Regions from separate parts of the Homo sapiens genome. Here regions 1 and 3 are each linked to region 2. Evidence: promoter capture Hi-C in human tissues and cell types (Jung and others, 2019). All regions are on one chromosome and are shown on one strand. Each heading gives the region's core, a stretch centred on a gene start or on the middle of the fragment in contact. The rest is flanking DNA. Distances are from core to core; before and after follow the strand shown.

What was found. The method cuts DNA at HindIII sites, captures the fragments that hold promoters and counts their contacts. A contact is called where the count stands out against the background at its distance.
Region 1: a fragment that was not itself captured here is called in contact with the fragment with the promoter of TSNARE1 in region 2 in 4 of the 25 tissues and cell types used here (IMR-90 fibroblasts, dorsolateral prefrontal cortex, mesenchymal stem cells and 1 more).
Region 3: a contact is called between a fragment that was not itself captured here and the fragment with the promoter of TSNARE1 in region 2, in 2 of the 25 tissues and cell types used here (dorsolateral prefrontal cortex and lymphoblastoid cells).

Annotation. Positions count from the first base shown.
Region 1 is chr8:141,775,242-141,778,631 of GRCh38, forward strand. No RefSeq gene overlaps it. Among named protein-coding and RNA genes, the nearest start is that of MIR1302-7, 9.4 kb to the right of the region's middle. The HindIII fragment of the contact is 7,354 bases long and covers 1-3,390 here.
Region 2 is chr8:142,401,658-142,404,892 of GRCh38, forward strand. It overlaps TSNARE1 (t-SNARE domain containing 1), which reads right to left and starts at 1,525. Exons shown (of 14, transcript NM_145003.5): 1 at 1,447-1,525. RefSeq lists silencers at 1,084-1,223, 1,364-1,933, 2,374-2,423 and an enhancer at 1,655-2,430. The HindIII fragment of the contact is 11,624 bases long and covers 1-3,235 here.
Region 3 is chr8:141,757,901-141,761,193 of GRCh38, forward strand. No RefSeq gene overlaps it. Among named protein-coding and RNA genes, the nearest start is that of MIR1302-7, 27 kb to the right of the region's middle. The HindIII fragment of the contact is 7,477 bases long and covers 1-3,293 here.

The DNA.
Region 1 (3,390 bases), core at 325-2,824, 630 kb before region 2:
GTTGGGATTGGTAAGGGTACTCTGGTGGCCCCAAGCACGATTTGGACCTTGGACACTTTTTAGCATAATCCAGATGGAGAAGTTCCTTGGGCCTCTGCACGGGGGGCCAGTCAGATGATGACTGGACTTCAAAGCCAAAATCCACACACAAACACCATCTTTCTGTCCAGTGGATTTCTTCTGTGTCATCTTTAGCGGCAGGCAAGACAATTGTCCCCAGGCGACCAGGGGAGGACTTCAGGGTGAGGACCCAGGCAAATGCCTGCATGTGCCCAAGAGGAGACCCCATCGGGAAGCAGAGGATGAAGATCAGGAAGGAACAGAGGCAGCCAGATCCCGGCCCCGCATGCAGGGCAGGCAGGCTGGCTTGGTGGCCCACACTTCCCTGGGGAAGGAGTGTTCCGTGCAGCCTGAGGCCCTTGCTGAGAGGCCAGGGGTGGAGGGAAATGGCTCAGAGAGAGGGAACCAGCCTGCCAGGGGGATTTGCTGCAAAGCAGCCACACAGCGGTGAAGCAAAGCTAGTGGTATTTAGCTGTGTGTGGAAGGCTCATTTTTCTGCCAAGGAAAACAACAATTCTCCTGTCCAGAGTGTCCCAAACTCCTTGGCAACTGTGACATCCAGTTGCTCTTGGAAGCCATTGTGAGATGCTGGGTCTTATCTCCTCCCGGGGCTCTCTTATTTCACTCCGTGCTAACTGCTGCATTTAAGCTCTGGTAAATGATCACAACGTGGGCAAGACAGCTTGGCCTTCAGTGGCATTTATTTTTTCCTTCCTGGCCAAATGCTGACATATAAAACTCAATTTCATTTTGAAGAAAGGCAGGCGGCTGTGTGTTTGTTTAGACCCCTCTCAAAGACGAAGGGTCGTGGCAACCGCTTGAGCCTTCTTCCAGCTCAGGTGGGAGAGTTCAGCACGGCCAGCATGGCTGGAAGTTGGCCTGGTAGGGATCCTCGGAGGAGCGTGAATTAATGGGAAGGGGGGGTTCTGAATTCTGCAGACCCAGTCCTGTCTGCCCTTCCTGGACCCGGGCTGGGATCCTGGTGACCCTGTTGGATCAGAGCTGGTCCCTTCCCCACCGAGCCTCAGCTTCCCTCTGGGGGAGTGGCGGCTCTCTCATCTGGGGGGTGAACCCCAGAATCACAGCCTTGACTGCCCTGGCCCCACGAGGGCACAGCCTGGCTTGTGTGTCTGAAGGCCGGGGACCGCTCTGCTCCTCTCGATGTCTGTGAGCAGCTGTCGTCCTCTCCTCAACTCAGCTTTCCAATCAGCTGAGTGGAAAGGGGTGGCACCGAGGTTGTGCGGCTGTAACGAAACGACACCGAAAGTGCCGTTGGCCCCGAGCCAGGCACGGAGCGGGCCCTGATCACTGTGGTGTGTGTTTCCCGTCCTCTTGGTCTGAGTGGATGAAAATTTAAAGGGGCCCTCCCAGTGACGTCTGCAGCTCAGAGGCAGTAGACGATGCTGCGTGGCACAGGTTTGGGGAACAGTGAGTCCCTGGAAGGGAGCTGGGGCGGGGTATTCGGACCCCTCGGGCCCCTTGGACCTACATGGACCCCTCACTCCTCCTCAGCTCCTGCTTCCCTATCTTAGCGTCTCTCACAACCTGGCCTTTCTACACACTTTTGTTTTGCTTCCACTGGAGTAGATGGGAAGAGGGCTCTCTGCCCCCTCCCTGGGCTGAAATTTTACATCTATGCCCTCTACCGAGTGAGTTGACAGAGCCCCCACTGCGAGTGGAGGGCACGGCCCTGCCCACGGGTGCTGGGCTTGGATGTGAAACATGGCTCGGCCAATAGGACGTGGTGGAAGTGGGTCAGGGCCACTTTGGGGACACTGTTCATTTCCTCTCACCCCTCTGCTGCTCTGCCCTCCACTGCAAGGCCAGCAAGCCCTGCTGGCTACTGCCTCATCAGCCTGAGCCCAGAACCAGGCCCCGGAGGCCTGGGCGTGCCTGGCTGGGCCCAGGTGAGACCCGCAGACTCCTGTGCTTAGAAGCAAATGCCGGCCATTAGGAACCAGTGAGGCATGAGATTCATTGTCTGCAGCAAAAGCCGCCTAAACCCTGCAGACAGATGTGCTCCATGAGGCGGGAACCACGTCTGTCTTGTTTCCTGGCAGCTCTTTGCCCAGAAAAGTGCACAGAGCTCCACACAGTATTTGATGAATGAGTAAATGAATAAGAAAATGAGGCCAAAAGGAAGACATTGTGTTTCTGAAGTTGTACAAATAATGAGTGATGGATATTGCCTGGGTCTTTGGGGTCCCTTTTCTGGGGCGTTTCTTCAGTGCCATGTGACAGTGACGTGGTGAAAAGCACGGTGATGGGAAGAACTGAAGTTAGAAGTGCTTGTGTGTGTCTTCTCCCCTGGCAGCACCCCTCTGGCTCTCAGCAGGTGGCTGAGCCCTTGGGGGATTGGGAGGCCCCAGGGTCCGTGAGCTGATGTCTGGAGAGGCCAGAGCTGACCATGGAATGTCCATTTCTGCAGGAGACCTGGGAAGAATGAAACTTGCCCTGGATGAATATAAAATCTGATCTAATATTTTATAATGCTGACTTATGATTCAGATTTTACTTAGTGGTGGCATTTTAGGCACTTTCACTGAAGGAAGAACGGATTTTCATTGAGAGATGTGAAACCCACATTGAAACTGGTTCATTTGGCTGCCTGAGAAGGTGGAGGCTGTGGTGGTGGTGACGATGGTGGAGAAGTGGAACCAGGAGGAGGAGGCTGGATGCGGCACCAAGGCAGTGCCTGTCGCTGGGCCTGCACCCAGCCTGGTCGATGTGAGATGCTCCCTGCCTCCTGCACTGTGGGTGCCAACCCTCCTCCATGCATGGCCGAGATGCCCCTGCCCACTGCACTGCAGTGACCCCTCAGGTAGAGCCTTCATCCCCTCTCCTCCCACATGTAAGGAGCAGAGGCCTAGGAGGGGTGCATTCCCCAGGTGGAGAGCAGGCCTGGCATGGGCTCGGGGGACTGGGCTCCTGTGACCTTGGTCATCTCACTTGATCGTGCCCCAGGCTCCTTGTTGTAAAGCGGGGACAATAATGGACCCACCATCCAGGACTGTCCTGAGGGCAAAGTGGCTAAGCCCGACCACAGTCCAAACATGTCCCCAAACCTCCATGTGCTGGAAGCTTAATTGCCAAAATAACAGTATAGAGAGGTGGGCCTTTATGAGTTGACCTGGGCATGAGGGCAGAGGCCTTGTGAGTGGATTAGAGCCTTTATCTCGGGGTGAGTTCTCACGAGAGCAGGTTGTTCTGCGAGCAAGCTGGGCTGACTCTTGTGGTCTCTGTCACGCGCACTTGCTTCCCCTCCCACTTTCCTGCTGTGTTTGAAGACAGTGTGAAAGCCTGTCTAGAAGCTGCTGCCCTGCCCTTGGA
Region 2 (3,235 bases), core at 275-2,774:
GCCAGAGGCTGCCAGATGTTCATGGGGCCAGGCCAGCAGAGGAGGAGAGAAACAGAGGTGACCCAGCCAAAACTCAACCTCCTCCAGGAAGTCGTCTTGGATTTGCCAGCCTCCCACAGCCACCTGCATTCACGGCCTGTGCTGCTGTGTCCAAACATTTGTTCTACCAGATTTCTGCTGCGGTCCTGTGATGTATGGGGTCGAACGGTATGAAAGCAGCGGTTCAGTCGGGGGAAGCACTCCAGTACTAACAAACTTCAGCTTTCTTTCAACTCAATACTGTGTCCACACTGGGAGTATCCTAAGCAACAATCCCCACCCCTGTCTCACAGGCACTAAAGATAAAACAGAAAACAAGCAGATGAGTGACAATGACAAACAAGAAATACTGTAGGGAGAGCGGTCAGAAAGGTGAGCTCAGACATACCGGAAGCGGAGCTGCCCCCAAGCCAGGAGCGAGCCAGGAACTAAAAGAAGAGGCAAGTGTGCAGCAGAGGAAAGAAAGGGCGCCAGGTGTGGCTGGAAAGGCACCTGGCAGGATGAGGGGCGGAGAAGCACCGGCGGAGCAGCACGCGCGAGGCCCATTTTGAGCCGCACCACACCGCTCACAGAACTTCCTGTGATAAGCAGTGTTCCCTACCCGCGCTGCCCCACACAGCCGCCACCAGACACGTGTGGCTACTGAGTGTCGGACATGTGACCACTGGCACGGAGGACCTGAATCCTTCACGTTAAGGACAATGTAAACAGCCACACATGCCTAGGGGCTACCACACTGGACATGGCAGAGCTTCCAGAGCAGGAGGAGTGCGCCATGAGGCAACAAACACGAGGTCCCTGGAGAGTTTCTGCGGGGGCAGCACAGATCAACATCACCTGAAAGTCCCTGGTGGGGATGTCGCAGGCCCCAGTACCCAGGAAGCACCTTCTTACAACTTGGAGAAGGGACAGAAAGGCATGGAGAGGCAAGCACACAGGAACGGGGTCCCCAGCTCAGGCTCGAAGGCGGGCTCCGCTCGTTGAGCTGCAGGGCACCAACCCTTGCACCCAGCAAGTAGGCGCTGGGGCGCTCCCCGGGACGGCACTGACCTCCAGGCGCAGGCACCGGCTGCCCGGCCCAGAGCCCACCGACCTGGGGTCTGAACAGCGCGCGAGGACCCGCCGAGGGGCTCATGTGCCCGCGGGCCGGTCCCCGAAATGCGGCGCTCTCGCGGGGCTGCGGCTCAGGGTCCCTGGCGCCCCTGGGGTCCACCCCCGGCACGGTCCCGCCCCCTCCCCTCCCCACCGGCGCGGCCCCGCCCCCCGCCCGGCCTCCCGCAAGCCCCATACCACGCCACGCCGCGGCCCCCGCCGGGCTCCGGGCCCCGCGCTGGTCCCCGGCCGCCTCGCCCTCGCCGCCCCACGCCCGGCCCCGGCCAGGCCCCAGCCCCACCGCCGCCGCCTCACCTGGGCCTCGGTGGCTCGCGGACCGCTCCGGGCGCTCACGGCGGGCGAGGCGGGCGGGGCGGGCACCCAAACATCACGTGACGGCCCCTCCCGCCGCCGGCGTGCGCGCCCCCTCCCGCACCAGCCAATGGCCGCCGGTCCCGGACGCGCGCGGGGACTACCCGCCCCAGAGGCCCCGGCGCGGAGCCGGAAGCGGCGCGGACGGCGGTCGGCTGGGCCAAGAGGCCTCTGCGGGTGCGCGCGCGAGTCGGCTGTCCTCACTTGCCTGGTGGTGGGCCTCCGTTTCCCCGTTTCCCCGTTTTGCATATGGGGATGACGGCGAAGGTGGAGGTCACGTGGAGGGCGGCGGCCCGGCGCTGAGGCGCTTCGGGAGCGGGCTCCGCCCAGCCCAGGCCGAGCCCGGACCTCACACGGGCCAAAGCTGGAGCTTCTGCGGGGCTGCGCAGGCGGCGGGTCTCGGCCAGGGCAGGGCCGGGCACCTGCGCGTCTCGCGCTGCGGGGACGGGCGTTGGGCCCCAAGTCAGGCTGCACGGGCTCCGCGTGGGGCCGTGCTCGGCCGGGGGCTGGCAGGCCCCGCGGGGACTCCGGACTCCCAGTGTCACCAACGAGGAAACTGAGTCTCAAGACATCTGAGGGACCTTTGCCCGAGGTCGCAGCCCCTCCCTGGAGGAGCTGAAGTGCAGAGTAGGGAGCCCCTTGCGGAGACCCTCCTGGGACCTCCTTCCGCAGGGGCCTGGGGCGCCTCCCTTTCCCTGCTCTGCCTGCGGGCACTGAGCTCCCGAAAGACTCCAGCCCCTCGCTCTCCCGGTGACCTGCTGGAGAAGACACCTGGGAGGAACCTGCGGACAATGGGTGTGTGTCCTTGGGCCGCCAGGGTCACCTTTCAGCCTGTTTCCCCAGAGGTGAACCAAGAGTCACACCCAAGGCAGGAGAGCAAGAGTGATGAGTCCGCTGCACCTTCTCCGGCAAGCGGAGGTTCTCCCGCCGCCCTCACTCTGTGATGCTTGCTGTGCTTGCGAGGCCTACGCCAAAGCCCTGCGGGCAGCCCTGGGCTCCCGCGGACAGCCTTGCTGAGCTCCTGGGAAGGAGGCGTGCCCTCCCCTTCCCCCACCGCCCCGCTGGCTGGGGTTCTCTGCAGCCCAGGACTGTGCATGTGTGCGCACACGGGTTCTGTGAACACGAACACAAAAGTGTGCTCGTGGACACTGCGTGGTACTGTGTGCACACAGCGCACGTCTGTGAGCTGAGGGAGTGTTCCTGGACACCAGGTGCAAGTGCACAAGTGTGTGTATGCTGGCACAAGTGTGTGCCCAGGCGCAAACATGGGAACGGTAGTATATGGCACAAATGTGTGCACACATGGGTGGGAGGGAAGAGGGGCACATGCCCACCAGCATTCCTGGGCTGGTGCTCAGGCCGGCCTGTCCTGGGCCCACCCACGCTCCTTGCCTTGGTGTATTTCAGTCTCCCCTGGGCTCCCAGGAGGCAGTAGTGTGTGCCTGTCTTGCAGCCTCGCCATGATTTGGACAGGGCTTCACTCTTCGGCTAGGACAGCTAGAGTGCAGGGAAGCCGGCTCCTAACCAGGGAGGATGCCCATGACTGCTGACCCCCCAGCTTCCACTTGAAGGGGAAGGTTCGCCAGGACCAATGCCTGTCTGAGAGCTGTCAGTCTGGACTGAGGATGCCGGGTGCCTGGCACGGTGCCCACCTCCCCTTCCGTGGCTGGCGCTGTCTGTCTGGCCGCCACCTCACTCAGCCTCCTCTGACAGCTCCGTGTTCAGGTGTGCA
Region 3 (3,293 bases), core at 88-2,587, 640 kb before region 2:
AGCTCTGTGGGCACCTCTCACACCTCGGCTACTGGGCCTGAGGAAGGTGAAGGTCCTGGCATGGCCTCTAGCAAGGCTGGAACCCAGGCCTGGCTCTCATCTGCCTGGCTCACCTCACAGCCCTTCACTGCCAGCCTTTCCTTGCTTTCCTGACCTCCTCCTGTTTCCAGAACCATCTGGCAGCCCAGAGCCCCATCTCATTACCCTTTTTCTATCTGCCAGTGAGCACCGGCAGAGCTGGGCTTGTCCTCTGGCCTTGGCATTACCATCTGTATAAGGGGGTTCGTCCTGACCACCTTGCCTAGCCCTCTGGTTACTAGGAGGCTCAAAGGAGGTGGCAGGCATTTTAGAAACTCCAGGAGCTTCCAGCTGCAAGGCGAGCTCCTCATGACAAGAGGCACATGTCTCCTTCAATAAACATTCATTCAAAGGGATGCACGTGCCGGGGAGAGAAAGAGAGAAAGATCATTGGACTCTTGAGCACTCCATCCTCATCATGACCTCTGACCCTAGAGGCCTTTTAAAAGCTGCAGCTGCCTCTGGGCACAAGGCCCCAGTTCCCAGTCCCGTCTCTGGCTCCCACATCACATGCGGTACGTGCAGGAGGCTGCTGGGCTAGACCCCCAAGCTCAGGGCAGTGCCTGGCGCACACTGAGTGGGCGCTGCACATGTGGTGGCTGTGGCTGTCATCAGTAAGCCGTGGCTGCTGACGGCTCCTGCCATCTTCCCTTTCCTTCAGGTCCCCTGGGTTCCTGCCCTGTGTGGAGAGCCCCCATGCTCCGGCCGGGGATGCACCTGTCATGCCTGCACCTGTGGAAGGCCTCTCCCCTCCTCAGCTCTCCCTCCCCTGCACCTCCTCCTCCAATTTATTCATCTCTGTAACAGGCCTTCCCGCAAGCTGACTAGTGTGATAGATACGCTTGAATGGTTCTAATCCTTGTCAAGAGATTTGGAGTTGAATTAAACAGAGCAGATGAATTAACTACAGCCAGGGCAGGGGCTTTATCTGCATTTCAGAAACGGGGAACTGAGGGTTGCAGCGAGGGGCAGTGGAGGGGTCCAGAGCCTGGGGTCCTGACCCCAGTCTAGGTTACGTGCAAAGTCCCCTTCCAGCACCTGTCACTTTCCTTGGAGATGAGGTGCAGACGGGAAGGAGTTAACAGCCATGCTGCCTTCCTCAAAGCAATTAATTAAGGAATTGGAGAGGTAGGGTCTGGACAATTATGCCCTAGACAAAGGAGATGGAGGAGGCGGGGGCAATCACTTCAGGGAGCCTTGCGCTGGGAGATTAATAAGCGTTTGGCATTTGGACAGCACGCCAAGGCTCTGAGCAGCACTTCTGTCGGGCCCTGCTCCATGCTGGCCCTCTGGGAAATTCCTGGGGCACAGGTCAATGTTACCTTGGTTACCCAGGCCACCATCATGACCAGCGCATAGGCGGCATCAGGATGACCAGGCTCTGGGGACGCCTGGCTCGGCTAAGAGTGTTGACGGCTTCTATGTGAGGGCCGGGGCAGGGGTGAGCGGGGGCAGGGCTGAGAGAGCTGGGGCTTGCAGGCTCCAGACCAGACCCCAGCCCCATCCCAAGGCCACCCCATTATTTAGAGAAAGAGGAAGGCTTGACGTCCATCGGGCCTGGGCTCTGCCACTTACAGGGCAAACGGGGCTCTGCTTCCTCCTCCGCTGAGGGGGGATAACACCGGGTCCCCTGGACGGTGTGCAGTCAGAGAGTGGATGTGGGATAAGCCATCAGCCTGACCCTGGTGTTGAGAGAGACTTGCTCATGTTCTTTTCCTTCCCTCTTTTCCTCTGCAGCTTCCCCGCCACTGCCACCCGCTCCGAGGCATGCCCTCCACCACGGCCCGGCCGCAAGGCACCTCCACTGCCAGCCGCTTCCCACACGTGGGCCTCCAGCAGCTCCTGAGGCTCATCCCATCACATTCCACCCCACCGCAGGGCCCTTCTCCACCTCTCCCACCTCCGCCTTTTGGTTCCAGCCTCCTCCTCCTGGGAAACTCTAGAGGACTCTCTTCTTCCTCATCCTCATCCATCATCTAAAACATTCCTTTCCAAGTTCAGGAAATTCTTAATGAGAAATTGGCCCAGATTTGGGAAGGGTAGGTCAGGGGAGTTTCACTCATTCATTCATTCATTCATTCAGTCGCTCATTCATTCATTCACGCATTCATCAAAGAGTTCTGAGTGTCCTGTGGCCAGACTTGTTCCTCGTATTCACTGTCCCCTGGGGATGTCACGGCAGAGGAGCCCAGCTGTGCACTCACTCCTGCTTCATGGAACTTACATTTAAGGCGGGGTCCAAACAACATAGGTGGCAAAAGGCTCTCTTTATTGAGTTTTGGGTGAGGGCCAGTGCTGCCTGGGAGGACCAAGCCAGGAGGACTAAGCATGGTGGCAGCGGGCAGGGAAGGCTGCTGGTACAGAGCCGCGCTCCTTGGGAGAGGTGAGGAAGGGGCAGGGGTGGTGTTGGTATGAGGCTGAGGCTGCCACAGGGTGGACAGGAGAGAAGGCCAGAGTTGGGGGTGGCCCCTGAGTAATTCTGGGCTTCGCAGGCCATGGAAGGTGTTTGGATATACTCCTCAGTGCCACAGACGCTCCCAGGGACCAGGTCTCTGCCAGATAGGGCAGAGGGTCGCCCCCGGCGGGGATGATGGGCAGCCCAGCTAGTCCACGGAACAGAGAACGCGGCGCCGAGACCCCCTCGGGGTGTGAGAGCATCACAGTGATCCAAAGCAGGAGCAGTCCCCACCCGGCGGTGGTCAGCTTGGAGTGGTCAGACGGTGCCCGAGTTGTCCTCTGTCCTCTGTCCTCGCTGCAGACCCTCGCGGCCCCGGCCCCTGGGCTGCCGCAGAGCGCACCGGGCAGAGCGCACGGGGCGTGATGAAGCTGAGCTTCGAGGGGTGCTCAGCTGCCAGGGTCTGTGTGCCGATTGTGCCTTAGTGCTTGGCTCAGGCCTGAATCCAGGGTGACCATAGAGCCCCAGTCAATACTCATCAGAGACAGTGACTCCAACGAGATGAAATATAAACTTCCCAGAAACTGCGGGATACGTGGGGCCACCGTCCTGAGAGGGCTGTTGCTGGCTGGGAAACATTAAAACTTTCAGAGAGAGGGGAGCCTCGGACCTGCTCATCCCCCAAGCTCATCCCCACGCTCCGGTCATCACCCGGACTGCCCACCTCTGTCCCCAAACACAGCAGGTGGCCTGGGCTGGGTTCTGCCTGCAGGCTTCCTCTCCCTGAGCTTCCTTCCCTCTTGGGCTGCTGGAGGGCAGG